Linked DNA regions of Homo sapiens: region 1 is linked to region 2. The links are contacts of gene promoters, found by promoter capture Hi-C in human tissues and cell types (Jung and others, 2019). All regions are on one chromosome and are shown on one strand. Each heading gives the region's core, a stretch centred on a gene start or on the middle of the fragment in contact. The rest is flanking DNA. Distances are from core to core; before and after follow the strand shown. Region 1 overlaps EXD2 (exonuclease 3'-5' domain containing 2). Region 2 holds the start of CCDC177 (coiled-coil domain containing 177).

The links. Contacts are between HindIII fragments. The study calls those that stand out against the background at their distance.
Region 1: a contact is called between a fragment that was not itself captured here and the fragment with the promoter of CCDC177 in region 2, in 1 of the 25 tissues and cell types used here (lymphoblastoid cells).

Annotation. Positions count from the first base shown.
Region 1 is chr14:69,238,153-69,244,386 of GRCh38, reverse strand. EXD2 (exonuclease 3'-5' domain containing 2) reads right to left here. Exons shown (of 10, transcript NM_001193360.2): 10 at 369-3,503. The coding sequence ends at 3,287. All of the region lies in intron 2 of GALNT16-AS1 (GALNT16 and EXD2 antisense RNA 1), which reads left to right. Among named protein-coding and RNA genes, the nearest start is that of GALNT16, 19 kb to the left of the region's middle. RefSeq lists an enhancer at 5,041-5,665. The HindIII fragment of the contact is 5,157 bases long and covers 469-5,625 here.
Region 2 is chr14:69,572,146-69,578,501 of GRCh38, reverse strand. It overlaps CCDC177 (coiled-coil domain containing 177), which reads left to right and starts at 3,631. Exons shown (of 2, transcript NM_001271507.2): 1 at 3,631-3,960; 2 at 4,852-6,356. The coding sequence starts at 4,880. The HindIII fragment of the contact is 5,538 bases long and covers 2,017-6,356 here.

The DNA of each region.
Region 1 (6,234 bases), core at 1,798-4,297, 330 kb after region 2:
AGGGGAAAAAAAGGAAGAAAGGATAAATAAATGAATGAAAAATTGAGAGGCAGGGTAAACTAAGAACTTAACTTACAGTCAAATGTTAGGGCCCCAAACTAATAGGCGAATAGGAAGGTGAACAAAACCTCTTTCTGCCTGCTGGATTCTTAAGAGTCTAAAATGCATGATTAAAATGGCTTTATTTCAACAGAACACATTTTGTCATCTGATCTCTATCCGTGACATGGATAAGAATAAGTAACTTATGGCTGTGCTCTTAAGCGTAAGCCGTAACAAATCCCTGAATATTGTGCCTCATTCACTTTGGGATGGCAAATCACTAATTGTTTGTGTAGCAGGGAAAAAACATCTGCCTACAGCCTATATTTTAAAATTTAAAATTTTATTTTTTTACCTTTTTTTTACATTTTTATTTTAAAATAAACAGTGTTTCCAAAAAACATTGACTACAAGGGGGAAATGAGGCAATAAGGTTGGAAGAAGGGAAGGACTCAAGAAGAAATGCTGAACCTGCAAACACAATGATCAGGGAGCATGCAGAGAGGCCCTTGCTGTGACACTGTCCTCTCACTGCTACTCCTATGAAGCCCAGTGACTATGCTGGGACACTGGAGCTAAAGGGTCAAAGAGAAGCATTTCATTCCTAAAAGGTGATGTCAATTTGTACTTAGCCCCAGCAATGTGAATCCCCCTCTTCACAGTCCAATTCTAAGATTCCATTCTTAAGAAATTACCAAAGATAGAGCCAAAGAGATATATACAAGAAACTTTATCACATCATCATTGATAATAAAAGTATCTGAAACAACCAAAATTTTCAACAGTGTGGGGATGGATAAGGTAGAACCACTAGAAATCTATTTTCAAAGATTTAAAAACATAGGAAGTTACTCGTGATACCATGTTAATCAGTGAGAGGGTAAAGTTAGGATACCAACCTGTATCTATGTATGACCTTCAATTTTGTGTAAATATACACCTTATATGCACTTTTTAATACTGAAAGGAAATTCATAAACATATCAGCAAAGTTTAGCTCTGTTTTAGATGGAGAGAAGATGGCTAATTTTTATTCTTTGTTTAGATTCTTCTGTAATGAGCATTGTTACTTTTATATCAGAAAAATAGACATTTGCCATAAAATAAGTCTACCCTCAAATCTCTGATTTAAGACGACAATTGTCAGTCTTAGGAAAAGCCTGCTAAAGTTCAAAGCAGACTCAAAGAAAAAAGATTCAAATCTACACAGTGACTCTCTCCTGAAAAGGATGAGAAATCTTGTGTGACGCAGTCTGGCTTTTTCCTCTACTTTGCTGCTGGCTCTATTTTACTGCGCCTCACAGAAAGCTCCATGGGAAAACCCTTTCCCTAGCACCTTAAATGACCTTAAGTGTTTCTCACCTCTTGGCATGAGGATTAGAAGGAAAGAAAATGAAACAGCCCTACTCCCTTGTTTCAAAGGAAAAATTTTTCTTGCAAAGCTATCAAAATGACTTAAAATCAGCTATGCAAAATTTGAAACATAAGTCATGAGTTACGTTCAGTAACCAGTTGCTTTTTTCTCAAGAATGAATATAAAAACAAATCTATGAGTGCCCTCTTGTGGCAAGCCTGACTATTACCACAACCCAAGTACCAGCCTCTCCCTGTCTATTTCCACGGCTCTCCTCCACTCCTGGGCTCCGCATAACACAGCCAGGAGGCAGAGACCCCATAATAACCCACTACAGTGAATGCACATTCCTCAAAGTGGCTGGTACTATTTGTTTTCAAGGATTTCTAGTTTAGATCCCAGAAATGCCTGCCTGAAGACAAGTGGGAATGAAGGGTCAGAAGAGCAAGATGCAGGATGTGCACGTGGGTTCATGGGCTGCTACTGATGGCCGATGGTGACTGTGTCTGGTATATCCATGCACACATACCATGGCACTGCCAGGAGGCAGGGACCTGTAGGATAAATAGCCCCTCCCCTAGGAATGCCAGTTTTATAAAGTCGCGAAGTTTTACATTTACATCCAGTGAGCCTTGTGCTTACAAGTAGTTTTATTATTAATTTTAGAGTAAACATCACCAACTTGGGCACAATTCCAAAATAGAGCTCTTGTTGGATTCTGGTCATAAAATTCTTTTTTAAGCTTGTTAAGATCTTATAAAATAAGAAAGTTTTCCCAATACTTTAGAAAAATTACTAATCATTAATAAGTCGATTTTATACTCAAAGTAATGGCCTAACATTTTGAAAGATGAAACAACGCTCCTCTTTTGAACATCTAATGTATTAAGTAAGCTCAGTGTCCCAGGCTTCAGAGGAGACAGAGAAGTCCTCATATTGCAACCTGACCAGATGACTCTGGGAGTGAATTAAATGCTTAAAAGAGGTCAGTCTTGCAAATTCGATGAAGCACAGAATACAGGGGAACTGATACTGATTCTGATAAAAGATAACATTACTCTCAGAAAGGGGTGAAGCTAAAAATCTTGCAGTTCTGGGGCAGGAGGAGTGCAACAAGCAGGCAACAAACAGCATGAAAGGAAAAGCTGAGTGAATTTCAAAGTTCTATTGGGAGATGGAGTTTGTGGTTCTTTCTGCCCCACCCAGGTCAAAGGCTCATGTCCAGAAAAGGATTTCTCCCAGTGATAGGGTGGAAGTGTGTGGCAGGAAGTTGCTGTTTGGTCCTGGAAGTGTAAAGGAAAGCCTTTTCAAGTACGTGAAGTAGACTGAAGTGACCCAGATGGGATGGATCCCAACCACATGAGTTACGGGAGAGCATGAAGCCAAAGAAATGATAATTATGAAGTTGAATTGGGAAAATAAATTTGACTCCTTGTTCACTTCTCCAGCCTTTGGAAGAACTTTTTCTCCCCTCCTAACAGGACCGATATACTGGACAGCCCCTGTTAGAGATAAACCGAGGCACTAGACAAGGAAGAAATGCATTAAAAACATTTTTTTTAAGTCTTGACAAGTCACTTCTGGGAGAATTCTTCATTTTTCCTCTGCACAGGGACAGCAGAAGAGGGAGAGTAAAAATAAAGGCGAAGGCCTCTCTTGTCCACAAAAATGAGAGGAAAAAAGACCCTGCCCGTTTAAAATCCAAAACCATAAACTCTCCTTCAAACAATATCTTTGCTCCAGCAGAAGCATCCTGGGATTAGTCTAGGTTAGTATTCTGAGTTGTGTCACACAGGCTTTGACAATTAATGATGTACTAAAATGGGAAGAGGTGACTCTTCAACCTTGGCTCCAGCTTCCCACTTGTCCTAACTGGGAGGAAAGCAGCTATCAAGACAGCTGGATGGGAAGATCTTCCCCGAATTTCCGGAGCAGCTTCTGATGGTTGTGGTCCACTGACCACTGCTGGGGCAGGTGCTTGGGCTGCATGGAGTCCAGGAAGTGCTGACGCCAGCGGCTCTCCAGCTGCATGAGGGAGCGCAGGCCACCCTGGCTGTGACACTGCACCACCTTCAGCCCGTGAGGAACATAGTTTTCATTGGAGATTCTGCCAAAACATGAAAAACAAAGTGTCTGAGGGAAACAAGCGCAGGATGGCCTCACAGACAGCTTCAAATGCTGCGCGCCAAGGGTAACTGGGGAGGTTGAAGGACTCCTAAAGGGTTAGTTACTTTGGTGTTTTCGAAACATCCTCTTTCTTATCTCTGCCCTTTTTATAGTCTGAACATACGACTCGCAATCCCAACAGAAGGTATTTGAGGGTTCTGAGCTCTACTGACAGGAAGGCCACTTCATAATGTTCAGCTCCCACGAGAGGGGCACTACCATCCAGCTGATAATGGATGAAGAATGCTGGTCTTCCATTTCTTCCAGGATTACCCAGTGACCAGTTCACCCCTCTTTTAAGTTGTTCATTCTGGGACACAGTATTTATATGAGGCTGTTAAATCGGCCCGCATGTTACACTTTTTCACAACACAATTTAATAACTGAATGTCAAATGCAAGGTAGCATATTTCTTTAGAGCCTTTTTTCTCACAAAAAGATGCCAAGCCACAGTGGTGAGAAGTGTTTCGGTCACAGTGAAATGCTTCCATGGTTGCTCAGTTGTGCAAATGGTGCCATTAAATGAGAAGATGAATGCCTCCCTCCTTCCTAACTAAGCAGAGTCCTTAAAAAACTGCTCCGATGCTGTGTGAATGGTGCTTTCACCTCCTGTGAATAAAGATGACCTTCCTCAAGGAAGCACCCTGCCCACACACACTCTCCTCTCCCTACATCCATACCCCATGTTCAATCCTCCCTCCCAAGACACCCGCCACCCCAGCAGTGTTGGCGTCTCTGGGTATCTGCAGACACTTTATTATTAATATTTAGCTCATGCGCTTCCCACTAACTTGCCTGTCTCCAAACAACTGTTCTTCTCAGTCACAAGTCCAGCATTCATCTACCCAATTCAGCAAGATGAATTTGTTAGAAAAGTCTGTGGCCGAAAGGGGAGGTTTAGCTGCTTTAGAAAACATATTGGCAGCTGGGCGTGGTGGCTCATGCCTGTAATCCCAGCACTTTGGGAGGCCAAAGCAGGAGGATCACTTGAGGTCAGGAGTTCGAGACCAGCCTGACCAACGAGGTGAAACCCTGCCTCTACTAAAAATACAAAAATTAGCCGTGTGTGGTGGCACACACTTGTAATCCCAGCTACTTACAAAACAACATCTATTCTACAACCTCACAAAATAGTTATGGGGATAAAATTCTATAATTCTTTTAAAACCCTGAAAGATTTTTTAAATTTAAGATATAGTAGCAGTTAACCAGTAAGAAATCTAAATCCTACTTTGTCGGGTTGTCATGAGAAACAATTAAGGCAATTTATGTGAAGTTTATTAGCTGGTTTGCTGCAAGATATAGTATATCTATAAATAACTGTTCAATAAATATTTGCAGTATCTGTAATGGATCAGTAGTAATGGATAAGAGTAAAAAAATTTTTGTTTTCTAAAAAAATTAAATATTTGCTTATAATTGGAGTTACTTTTTTATTTTTCAGTTAACAAAAACCAGCATCACGCTCAAGGTTTTGTGAACTTATCAGTTCCCTTATTTCAACTCCTGGTCCTGTTGGAAAAAGTGACAGTTGGGAGGCAGAACTGCGCATGGTAGCCCAGAGCTCTTACCATCTGAGCCACGTGCCCATTCATTTCTCATTTCAGAATACTGCATTGTGTCACAAGAATTCAACTATGTACTCATGGAGAAGGAGGGAGAAAGCAAGGAAGGAAAAAAGAGAAAAGTAATTTACATAGTAACAGCAATTCTGCTCAACATTCCATTCAGTGAGCCGATACCCTGGAGTGCAGGTGAGATAGGAACCATGAATTCATTAGTCACAGTTCTCACAGACCTGTATAAAGTCGGAGACACAAAACCACACATAGAATTGGCCCTCCATCTTTGTGGGTTCTGCATCTGTGGATTCAAACCTCAGATCAAAATGATTTGGGGCCAGGCACAGTGGTTCATGCCTGTAATCCCAGTTCTTCCAAGGCAGGTGGATTGCTTGAGGTCAGGAATCTGAGACCAGCCTGGGCAGCCTGGTGAAACCCCATCTCTACAAAAAATACAAAGATTAGCTGGGTGTGGTGGTGCATGCTTGTAGTCCCAGCTACTTGGGAGGCTGAGGTGAGAGGATCACTTGAGCCTGGGAGGTGGAAGTTACAGTGAGCCAAGATAGTGCCACTGCACTCCAGCCTGGGTGACAGAGCCATATACTATCTCAAAAAAACAAAACAAAAAAACCACAAAACTATTTGGAAAAAAAAAAAAAAAAACTATCTGTACTATCTGTACCAAACATGTACAAACTTTTTTCTCATTACTTCATAAACAATAAAATATAAAAGCTACTTACATAGCATTTGCATTGTATTAGGTATTATAAGTAATTTACAGGTTATTTAAAGTATACAGGAGGATGTGTGCAGGATATATGCAAATACTATGCCATTGTATATCAGGCACTTAAGCATTGGTGGATTTTAGTATCCAAGGGAGGTCCTGGAACCAATCCCCCATGGATACTGAGGGGTGAATGTACTGTATCTCATGGGGAACTTCAGAACTTCGAGGGTGTTATTGGACTATTATTTCATCTCATGTGCTGGCATGAGGATTTACGTCTGCATAGAATGTGTAAGATGCAGCTCCACCACAACTGCACTCGCACGCTAATCACAAAAATGACCGAAATTAAGTGTATGATCTTTAAAAAGGTCAAA
Region 2 (6,356 bases), core at 2,382-4,881:
CCACAGCCATGATTAGCCATTGAGGGAGGCAATTTAATAAGATTCTATGCAAGGGGGGAAAATGAGGTTTGGAGAGGCCAACTTGCCCACCCTACTCATCTCCATCTGAATCTACATGTCTACAGACACTCAGTTTGGTGTGGAAATATTAATACAATGCATGTGATCCACTTCAGAATCAGACAGAGCCAGGTCCAAATCCCAGCCCCACCTGTACTAGCTTTGTGACCAACTGCTTTTCTCTATTCAGAGCAATTTTTAATGTCATTTCTACATGTCTTTTTTTTTTCCCCCCGAAACGGAGTCTCACTCTGTCATCCAGGCTGTAGTGCAGTGGCGCCATCTCAGCTCACTGCAACCTCCGCCTCCCAGGTTCAAGCAATTCTCCTGCCTCAGCCTCCCAAGTAGCTGGGATTACAGGTGCCTGCCACCATACCCGGCTAATTTTTGTATTTTTAGTAGAGATGGGGTTTCACTATGTTGGCCAGGCTGGTCTCCAACTCCTGACTTCAAATGATCCACCCACCTCGGCCTCCCAAAATGCTGGGATTACAGGTGTGAGCCACCGTGCCCAGCCAATTTCTACATATCTTGTAAAGAGGATTATTCCTTCCTTCCTTTTTTTTTTTTTTTTTTTTTTTTTTTGATGGAGTCTTACTCTGTCACTCAGGCTGGAGTTCAGCGGCGTGATCTCGGTTCACTGCAACTTCCACCTCCCAGGTTGAAGCAACTTTCCTGCCTCAGCCTCCCGAGTAGCTGGGATTACAGGTGTCTGCCACAATGCCCAGCAAATTTTTGTATTTTAAATAGAGACGGGATTTCACCATGTTGGCCAGGCTGGTCTCGAACTCCAGGGCTCAAGTAATCCATCCAACTCGGCCTCCCAAAGTGCTGAGATTACAGACGTGAGCCACTGCACCCAGCCATCCTTCCTTTCTTGACAGAGTCTCACTTTGTTCCCTAGAGTGAGAGGCTGGAGTGCAGTGGCACAATCACAGTTTACTGCAGTGTCCAACACCCAGGCTCAAGCAATCCTCCTACCTCAGCCTCCAGAGTATCTGGGACTACAGGTGTGCACCACCACGCCTGGCTAATTTTATTAATTTTTGTAAAGACAAGGTCTCACTATGTTGCCCAGGCTGGTCTCAAACTCTTGGGCTCAGCCAATCCTCCCGCCTTGGCCTCCCAAAGTGCCAGATTGCAGGTAGGAGCCACCATGCCCAGCTGGACTGTTTTTCAAGGATGATAGAGATAGAATCTCCCTCCAGGGAAGCAGGGAGATTTGTTTGCAGTCCAGGATAATAAAGATAATGCTGTCACTGGGGCAATGGTTGAGCAGGTTTGCTAGTAGCCCTGTTGAGAAGTTTAGGGTTTACTAATCTCTACCTAATTCACTACCTGTCTATGACCCATGGGACACATGGAGCAAGGGGAGCCAACAAAAGCATGATCTCATGCTGCCTGCTGTGCCATGAGTAACAAAGTCAGTGGTTTCTGACCCTGGAGTCTCCTGTCTTCTGCCAGCATATACAGAACAGTGGCAGGCTCACCTGTTAGTATGTAAGTAGGGTAAAATTCCAAAGGCTTCGTGTTCTTAAAACTACTACCTGAATGTCAAAAGCATCAGTAATTCTCACCTCCCATTGCACCTCAGCTTCCTGCACTTGGCATCTGCCCTAGTGCAATACTAAGCTGTTTTTGCCAATGTCACCCAAGACTCATAACTGCCAGTTTCAGTGGGTATTTGACTCCAGGTGAAACCTCCTGGACCTCTGCAGCCCTTAACACAAGGGGCACACTCTCCTTCTGCAGTGCCCCACTGGTAGCTCACACAAGACCACACTTTGCTGTCTGTCCTTGTTGCACTCCTTGTTGGTCCCCTTCGTGCACTCCTTTTCCCTTAGCAGCCCTATCCATGCCCTGCCAGCCTCTCTCATTGCTCCACCTGCCCTCCCTGAGTGATCTCACTCACACTGTTGGTTTTAGGAACCAGGTATAGGGTCACGATGTCCTAATTCTAGCTCCAGTCCAGATCTCTGACACAACTTATCAGCCACCTGCTGAGCAGCTCCACCTCAATCAAGAGGTCCGAAAAGGAAACCATCCTTCCCTGGCCCTCCCCATCACTATGTGCTGTATTCCTCCTGCCACTGTTCCTCTCTGGCCCCAATCCTTCCTGCCTGGGGTGACCACAGTGTCCAGCTAACTGGGCTTCCTGCCTCCTCTTGGCCCTGGCCTTTGTAAAGCCTCCACTTCACTGTTGCCAGAGTTATGTTCCTAAAATAAAAACCAAATCATGTCATTTCCCCACTTAAAACCCTTCACTTTCTCCTCACAGTCTACCTGACAATGTCAAGGTTATTTTTTAAAATTTAATTTTTTTTTCTTGAGATGGAGTCTCGCTCTGTCATCAGGCTGGGGTGCAGTGGTGAGATCTCGGCTCACTGCAACCTCTGCCTCCCAGGTTCAAGCGATTCTCCTGCCTCAGCCTCCTGAGTAGCTGGGATTACAGCTGCATGCCACCACACCCGGCTAATTTTTGTATTTTCAGTAGAGACGGAGTTTCACCATGTTGGCCAGGCTGGTCTCGAATTCCTGATCTCAAGTGATCCATCCGCCTCGCCCTCCCAAAGTGCTCGGATTACAGGTGTGTGCCACCACACCCAGCCAAGGTTATTTAATGCATAGTTCAATATTCCCTCTAATGTTATGTCCCATCCTCTCCTCGACTTCCCTCCATCAAGCACTCCTCCGGTCTGTCTCCTACGGCCACTATCACTCAAAATGGAAAAGAGGTGGGCAGGAGATGTCTCAAAATAACACTCATTGTATGGCACTAACTGGTTATAATTGTTATTATCTATAACCAGGAAGTCATAAAATGTTGCATTAAACACCAGTTACATATGTTCCACCTGCGTCAAACCCATAAGTGTTCTTAGTTTTTGTTTGTTTTTATTTTGTTTTATTTTGTTTGAGACAGGGTCTCACTCTGTCACCCAGGCTGCAGTGCGGTGGTGCAGTCATGGTTCACCGCAGCCTCAACCTCCTGGGCTCAGGTGATCCTCCCACTTCAGCCTCTGGAGTAGCTGGGACTACAGGCACAGGACACCACCCCAGCTAATTCTTGAAAATTTTTTTAGAGATGGGGACTCGCTATGTTGTCCAGGCTGGTCTCAAATTCCTGGACTCAAGTAATCCACTGGCCTCGACCTCCCGAAGTGCTGGGATTACAGGTGTAAGCCACCTTGCCCAGCCTGTTTTTAGTTTTTCATTGAAAAAAAAAAAATCACAATTTGCATCAGGCGCCATATTTCCACCCAATTATTCGCTATCAAGTTTGTTTGCTCCTCAGGGTTTCCTTTAGAAACAAGCTGAGCAATTCCTTCATTCTACCCAGTTAGGCTGCTGAAAGACTAGGGTTTCTTGGTGATTTATATATCGATATCTATCCATATCTATACCTACATCTACCTGTATGTGTGTAGTGTATATATATACATATTATATGTGTGTATATATGTACATATATACATTTAAACAAAAATTTCTCCTTCGTCCTCGAAGCAAACAAACCAGCACCCTCGAGTGTCCGCCAGGAGGCGCAGGGGGCAGCGTGGGACCTGCGGTACCTCCACGGTTGTAGAGGTGTAGAGGGATGCCGCAGCGACGGAACCGGGCTTCTTTTTTAAAGAATCAATGTGAGGGAAGGGTGCAGAGCCGCGTTATTTTAGGGAGACATTGTCGCACTCCCCCTCCCACGTGTAGGTAGCATCTGGGGTGCGTGCGCCCTGTTCGCAGACCCCATGGAGAGACGCTGGCGGCGGCAGATGGGGCTCCTTTCACGGTTGCAGCCGGCAGTAACCCGACCCCGCCGGCGCAGAGACTGAAGAAGCGCAGGGGACAGCGGCGAGCTGCGAACAAAAGCCCTTGGCGCGGGGCCGAAGCCCAGGACGCGGGGTGAGTAAACCGGCTCGGGTACCGGGAGCTGCGGGAACCTGGGCGGCCAGGTTCTTTGCACTCCAGGAGCCCACCCACTGGGATGCTGTGGGGGAACTCGGAGGGCACCCGAGGGCGGGTATCTGAACCCCGACTGGGGTGGATGGTATCTTTAGCACATTCAGACTTGGAGGAGATCCGGTGCGTCTGAGAGTATCCAGGCACCTTCTCCATCCCCAGCAAACACCCGGTGGGGGTGGAGGTGGGGGCGGAGGCGGCGTGCAGAGCCCTCAGTAAGCCCTGCCAGAGCTGCTGGAGCAAGAATCCATCACCCCTCCCGGAGAGGCCTTTGGGGACTTCTCCCAGCCCTTTAATCACCCGGGGGCCTTGCGACCGAGTCTCCTTTGGCAGGGGAAATCAACCATAAACTTCTTCCCTTAGGCAAATGGGGTCCCTTGGGATGAACAGGCCTCTTGCTTTTTTGTTCCTGCAAAGCTGCATCCCCAGTAGCCCGCCTAAGCTACAAACAAATACGCTAATCCTCCCGGGAATCCTCCAGCGCCTCCCTCTCTAGCTCCTGCCTGCACCTGGATCTTTTCATCTTAACTTGCAGCAGAAAGGGGATGCATCTAGCGGGCTAGGCGCCCAGAGGAGCCTCGCCACAGGCCTCCACCCCGCATTCCGGGGCTGAGGGAGACCCAGGCTGCTCTCTGAACACGAGTGTCCGCCCCACCCCCATCCCCGTTCTGGCGCTCAGCCTGGGCTTTCCGACATCGGTTTTATGATTTACGTTCCACCAAAGCCTCTGAGCCTAATCCGAAAGCGGATTAAGTTGGGATGGGGTGACTATGGATGAGGAGGGGGGAAGAGCTCTCAGACGTATTCCTCGATGTCCCTCCTTGTGATCTGCAGAGATTCCAACAAAGGACGGGGCTCAGCCATGGTGGACCCAGTGCCTGAAGAAGAGAAGGCAGGAGCGGAACCCGGCGACTCTGGAGGGGACGAGGCCGTGGCGTCCGTGCCCCCTGATTCCCAGGGCGCACAGGAGCCCGCAGCTTCCTCGGCCTCGGCCTCGGCCTCCGCGGCGGTGCCCCGCAAGGCAGAAGTCCCATGTGCAGCCGCAGAAGGCGGGCGGCGGGAGCAGTCCCCGCTGCTGCACCTCGACCTCTTCAACTTCGACTGCCCAGAGGCGGAGGGCAGCCGCTACGTGCTGACCAGCCCCCGCTCGCTAGAGGCCTGCGCCCGCTGTGCGGTCAAGCCGGTGGAGCTGCTGCCACGGGCCCTGGCCGACCTGGTGCGAGAGGCTCCGGGCCGCTCCATGCGGGTGGCCACCGGCCTGTATGAGGCCTACGAGGCGGAGCGGCGCGCCAAGCTGCAGCAATGCCGGGCCGAGCGCGAGCGCATCATGCGCGAGGAGAAGCGGCGTCTTTTCACGCCTTTGAGCCCCGCGGCCGCCGCCGCCGCCGCCGCCGCCGCGGCCTCGGCCCCGAGCGCGGGCAGCAGCAGCAGCTGCAGCAGCGCCAGCCTCCCGGCCTCGCCCGCGCCGCGTGCGGCCCGCAAGGCTTCCCCTAGTCCCTCCTCCGCCCGGACCCAACCTCCGCCAGCGGGTTCTCGAACAGGCAGGAAGAGCCATTCGCTGGACTCACTGTCCCGCCGGCGTGAGGGCGCCCTCAGCTCCGAGTCGGGCGCATCGTCGTCATCCTACAGTGGGGAAAGCTTGAGGGAGCTGCGCTGGCCGCCTCGGGCCTCGGCCAGGAACAGCTGCCCAGCGGGGTCGGCGTCCTCCACCACCAACGCTCCGGGCCGCCCGTCTGCCCTGACCCTGGTTCCGATCACCGGCCGCAGCTTCAGCCTCGGCGACCTGAGCCATTCGCCGCAGACCGCTCAGCACGTGGAGCGCATCGTGCGTCAAGTGCGTGCAGAGCGCGGCCTGCGCGGGGTGCCGGAGCGTGACCGGAAGATCGCGGCGCTCATGCTGGCGCGGCACCAGGAGGAGCTCCTGCTGCTGGAGCAACGCGCGGCTGCCCACGGCCAGTGGGAGCTGCAGCGCGTGCACGCCAAGCAGCGGCGGGAGCGCGAGGAGCGGGAGAAGCAGCGCGCCCTAGAGCAGGGCCGCCGAGCCTGGGCCGCGCAGGTGGAGGAGCGGCGAGGCCGCCGTGGCCGCGAAGAGCGCGAGGCGGCGCGGCGGCGGCAGCGGCAGTACGAGCGCAGCGAGGAGCGGCGGCGGGAGCTGGCCGAACGCCAGGGCCTCCTGCGGCGGGAGCGGGCGGAGCGCGCGGCCCGGGAGGATCGGCTGCGCAAGCTTCAGCAGGAGCAGAACCTGAAGCAACGTGAGGAAGGTCTACAGGAAGGGCGGGAGCGGGCTGAGCAGATCCGCAGGGAGCGCGCCCAGCGCGCGGCCCGCGCCAAGCAGCGGC